Linked DNA regions of Homo sapiens: region 2 is linked to region 1. Evidence: promoter capture Hi-C in 16 types of primary human blood cells and fetal thymus (Javierre and others, 2016). All regions are on one chromosome and are shown on one strand. The core of a region is centred on a gene start or on the middle of the fragment in contact, and the rest is flanking DNA. Distances in the headings are between cores, read along the strand shown.

Region 1 (2,525 bases), core at 26-2,525:
CCCAAGACAGGAGAAAGAGTTTGGCAGTTTCGCCTCTGAGGAATACATGCCTGGCCCTCCTGTGAGGTGAGGCGGTAGGGGGGAAGGCGCAGGCTCCGAAGTCTGAGGGCTTGCCGGAGGGGGAGTTTCTGAGCCTTTTGCATGGGTGCATGCCCCCTGCCCCCCAGCCCTTCAGAGGCTGATGTGGAAGGCATCCTGCAGCCACTGGTCACGGGCATTGTGCGTCTGGGGCACAGTAAGGGGTGGCGGGTCAGGAGGCAGGCTGGCATCGGGAGGCTCCTCGTCGTCAGACAGGCCCGCATCCGGTGGGTAGGAGCTGTCCGAATGGAGGGAGGATGACAGGTCCTGGCAGAAGCTCAGGTCTTGGCACAGGTGTTTGTAGTCCTGGATTGACTCGTACAGGCCCCACAGCTGGCACAACAAGGACATGTCCAACTGCCGCAGCCCCACCTGCAGACAACTGAGGGTGGGCTGGAGTTGGGGTCCAGGCCACCCCAGCCCAGCCCCGCCCCCTGGAATAGTGGGCCCCAGCCCATCTTCCCCGCACCTTCCTAAACGAAGTTTTTGTGGACATCAGGCACCACCTGCAAGCTATGCAACTTTAGTCATGACCCTCACCCAAAAAATGGGGTTATCCATTTAGCCGGATGAAATGAAGTAACGTCAGCAAAACATTTGAAAATATATGGTAACTACTGCCATAATTGGTAACTATCACTAATTATTGTTACCATAACCCTTGCAACCCAACTGGTGCCTGCAAGTCCTCTGAGACCCAGGCCGCCTGTCCCAGTCCCCTGCGTTCCTCCGCGTCAGCCCCCCGCCCAGCTGGCCCGGCGCCCACCCACTCACCATCTCCTTGCGCAGCGCGGCCAGCGCTGAGTCGAGGTTGACAGGACGACGCGGGCCGGCTGCGGGTCCCGCGTTGGCGGCGCCGGCGGCGTGGCGGGGCCCGTCCGGGGCGCGGGCGGCGCGGCTCAGCTCGTCGTGGATGCGGCTGCGCTGGCTGTAGACGCGCTCCAGCTCCCGCCACGAGCCCCCGCTCGCATTAAGGAGGCCGCTGAGGCCGCGCGGCAGCGGTGGGAGCCCGGCCAAAGCGCAGCCCGCCCCGCCCGGCGCCTCTGCCGAGGGCAGCCCGTTCATGGCCGGGGCCGGCGCGGACGGCGATGCCACCTCCTTCCCTCCAACGCTCCGCCCGGGCCGCCGCCCGCAGGCCCCGCACCCCGCGGCCCCGCCGGAGCCCAGCCGCCGCCCGCAGGCCTCGCTTTGTTCCTTCCCCAGCTCCTCAGACTCCGCCTCTGCCCCACCCCCTCTGGATGGGCCGGGCCTCTCTTAAAAAGGCAACGGTTGTGGGACCACGTCGCGCAAAGCTGAGAAAAGGCAACGGGACATCCACTCACTCAAGGGGAGATGGAAAAATGCGGCGGAGGGGGGAAAAGGCTGAAGGGGGCAGGCGTGGTTTCTTCACGGTTCTTTTTGCTACCCCGTCTCCCCGCCGCGCCCCGCCCCGCCCCCACACCCAAGGAAAATGATCTAACAGTGGAGTCAGGAGACTGGCAAGTCCACACTTGGTGCCTAACGTGCCACCTGACGCTGGGGTCACCACAAACTCCTGTCGGTGTCTGAGTACCTGGGGTGGGCATGAGATGGGATAGGCTGATAGGGTCAGGATGCTCAGGGGAAGGAGGGGAATCTATCAAGGGGATCGGAACACAAAACCTCACTTCCAGGTGGGGAATGGACACCAGATGGCGGAAGAGGCTGCAGAGGTGCTGCCAGAGACAAGGCTAGGGTCCACCCCTCTGGCTGCTACCTTTGAAAAGGCTATGGCTTCTTCCTTAGAAAAGGGGCATCACATAGTCCTCTACCTACTCCCTCATCCTGACTGGGGAAACTGAGAAGAAACAAGCTCAACTCATCTCAGGGCGTCAAGGAGAGCAGAGTGGAGAGGTGAAGAGGCCAAAAGCTGGAAAAAGGTGAGTGGAGCTGGGGCTGGCATGCACACTTGGAACCAGGAAAAAAACAAACCACACAGAGGAACAGCTGTTTTTCTAGAGGGTTTTTCTCAGGGGCTTCTCTTAGTGCTGTAGCTGCTGCAGGCTGCGCAGGGCCTCCGCACATGCGCGGATAAGGCCACACAGCTGGATGCTAGTCTCCAGGGAGGTGCTAGAGCCCAGTTCAGCAGAGGCCCAGGTCAGCTTCTGCAAGAGGGCTGTCTGTGTGCAGGCCATGACATCTGTATTTGGAGGCACAGCAGGAGCAGGTGGCCCCTGGGCTGCCTTGAGTCCTGCTGCAGCTCCCTCACAGTGCTCCGGACGAGGTACTGGGGGCTGGGGCGCAGGTCGAGAGCCCAGGGGGAGCTCTGAGGCTGAGGCCAGCTGGTGCTCCCGAGCTTGGGAGAGGGCAGCCTGGGCATTCAGAGCTAAAAAGAGGAGAAAGTGGGTGGAATGGTCAGGATGCCTGGCCCACCTCAGCCCTGAGCCATCTCCTTTTCTGCTCTGCTCTTTCTGTGCTTGAGGTGTTTT
Region 2 (2,525 bases), core at 9-2,508, 270 kb before region 1:
GGGCCAGCATGCCTGGCTAATTTTTTGCATTTTTAGTAGAAACGGGGTTTCATTATGTTGGCCAGGTTGGTCTCAAACTCCTGACCTCAGGTGATCCGCCCACCTTGGCCTTCCAAAATGTTGGGATTACAGGCGTGAGCCACTGCAACCGGTTACTTTTTTTTTTTTTTTGAGATGGAGTCTTGCTCTGTTGCCCAGGCTGGAGTGCAGTGGCACGATCTCAGCTCACTGCAACCTCCGCCTCCCGGGTTCATGCCATTCTCCTGCCTCAGCCTCCCTAGTAGCTGGGATTACAGTCATACACCACCACGCCCAGCTAATTTTGTATTTTTTAGTAGAGACGGGGTTTCACTGTGTTAGCCAGGATGGTCTCGATCTCCAGACCTCATGATCCGCCCGCCTCGGCCTCCCAAAGTGCTGGAATTACAGGAGTGAGCCACCACACCCAGCCTTTTTTTTTTTTTTTTTTTTTTAAAGCAGGGGGGTGTTCTCGCTATGCTGCCCAGGCTGGTTGAACTCCTGGCCTCAAGCCATCCTTCCACTTCAGCCTCCCAAGTAGCTGGGATTACAAGTGTGCAGCACCATGTCTGGCTTCCATGAACATTCTTACACAGGTCTTTAGAAGACTTTTTTTTTTTTTTTTGAGACAGAGTCTTGCTGTGTCACCCAGGCTGGAGTGCAGTGACGTGATCTTAGCTCACAGCAACCTCCGCCTCCCAGGTTCAAGTGATTCTCCTGCCTCAGCCTCCTGAGTAGCTGGGGATACAGGTGCCCGCCACCACGCCTGGCTAATTTTTGTAATTTAGTAGAGATGGGGTTTCGCCATGTTGGCCAGGCTGCTCTTGAACTCCTGACCTCAAGTGATCTGCCCGCTTCGGCCTCCCAAAGTGCTAGGATTACAGATGTGAGCCACCACGCCCAGCCGTCTTTTGAGGACTTTTGACCTAAGTCCCCATTTCTGTTGGGCATGAGAATTGCTTAGTTACAGGGAAGACATATTGTATGTTTAAAACACTTTAGTAAATACTGCCAAACGGTTTTCTAAGGTGACTAAACCAATGTACACTCCCAGCAGCACTGTGTATGAAAGTTCCAGTTGTACTACATCTTTGCCACAGAGTCGTTAGTCATTTTATCTCTCTCTCTCTCTATTTATTATTTTTTTTTTTTTAAAGAAAAGGGGTCCTGCTAATGTTGTCCAGGCTGGCCTTGAACTGGGCTCAGGCAATCCTCTGGAGTAGCTGAGAGCTGCTTTTGTGTACACGTATCAATTGACCTATTAAGTATGATAAACTTTGGACTCTCTGTTCCATTGGTCTATGTTTGTCCTTATGATAATATCTCACTGGACTGATTACTGTAATCTAACAGGTGAGACTGGAAATCAGATAGTGCAAGGCCTCCACCTTTATTCTTTTTTTTCAGAATCATTTGGGTGATTATAGGTCCTTTACATTTCTACCCCTGAAAAACATACTGGGATTTTGATTGTGATTGCATCGAATATATAGATCAGTCTGGGCACAAACCACTGTGACAGCTCAGAATTGTTAGTCTTTTTTACTTTCACCCTGTTAGTCCAGGCATGGTAATTGCGCATGGGGAGTGTAACTGGTATTACCTGGTGAGGAATGATGTTGAGCGGCATTTTCTGTATTTATCAGCCATCTGCATATCTTCTTTTGTAAAGTGCCTATTCAGGTCTCTGATTCTTTCCTGCCACCTCTTTGAAAGATCAGATTATCTGTTTTTCAGTAATTTGTAGGAACTGTTGCTGGAGACAAACCCATTGTTGATTATACCTTTTGTCAGTATCTTTTCCTAGTCTATAGTTTGCCTTTGACTCTTAATGGTTCAAATGTTACAAGCTCAACATAACAGTCTTTTATGTCTATGGTTAAGGCTTTTTGTGTCCTGTTAAAGAAAACTTTGCCTACCCCAAGGTCATGAAGATATTCTATTTATTTTTCTAGAGGTGTTACAGTTTAAGCTCTTGCAGTTGTATCTATAATCCATTTTCTTTTTCTTTTTCTTTTTCTTTTGAGACAGAGTCTTGCTCTGTTGCCCAGGCTGGTGTGCAGTGGCACGATCTTGGCTCATTGCAACCTCCGCCTCCCAGGTTCGTGATTCTCCTGCCTCAGCCTCCTGAGTAGCTGCAATTACAGGTGCCCGCCACAACGCCTGGCTAATTTCTGTATTTTTAGTAGAGATGGGGTTTCACTCTTTTGGCCAGGCTGGTCTCAAACTCCTGACCTCAAGTGATCTACCCTCCTTGGCCTCCCAAAGTGCTGGGATTACAGGCATGAGCCACCCTACCTGGCTATGATCTATTTTCAATTCATTTTCTTCATTTTAATTTTAATTTCTTTTTCTTTTTTTTTTTTTTTTGAGACGGAGTCTTGCTCTGTCGCCCAGGCTGGAGTGCACTGGCGCAATCTCGGCTCACTGCAAGCTCCACCTCCTGGGTTCAAGCCATTCTCCTGCCTCAGCCTCCCTAGTAGCTGGGACTACAGGTGCCCACCACG

What was found. Contacts are between HindIII fragments. The CHiCAGO score rates a contact against its expected background, and 5 or more counts as called.
Region 2: a fragment that was not itself captured here is called in contact with the fragment with the promoter of FAM89B in region 1 in 1 of 17 cell types (neutrophils); the score reaches 5.8 in neutrophils.

The regions. Positions count from the first base shown.
Region 1 is chr11:65,571,288-65,573,812 of GRCh38, reverse strand. It overlaps FAM89B (family with sequence similarity 89 member B), which reads right to left and starts at 1,275. Exons shown (of 2, transcript NM_001098785.2): 1 at 853-1,275; 2 at 1-450. The coding sequence starts at 1,143. The coding sequence ends at 172. It overlaps ZNRD2 (zinc ribbon domain containing 2), which reads right to left. Exons shown (of 4, transcript NM_006396.3): 4 at 1,925-2,422. The coding sequence ends at 2,079. RefSeq lists a silencer at 955-1,404. The HindIII fragment of the contact is 12,518 bases long and covers 1-2,525 here.
Region 2 is chr11:65,843,084-65,845,608 of GRCh38, reverse strand. The region is part of intron 1 of SNX32 (sorting nexin 32); the gene reads right to left. Among named protein-coding and RNA genes, the nearest start is that of SNX32, 10 kb to the right of the region's middle. The HindIII fragment of the contact is 8,144 bases long and covers 1-2,525 here.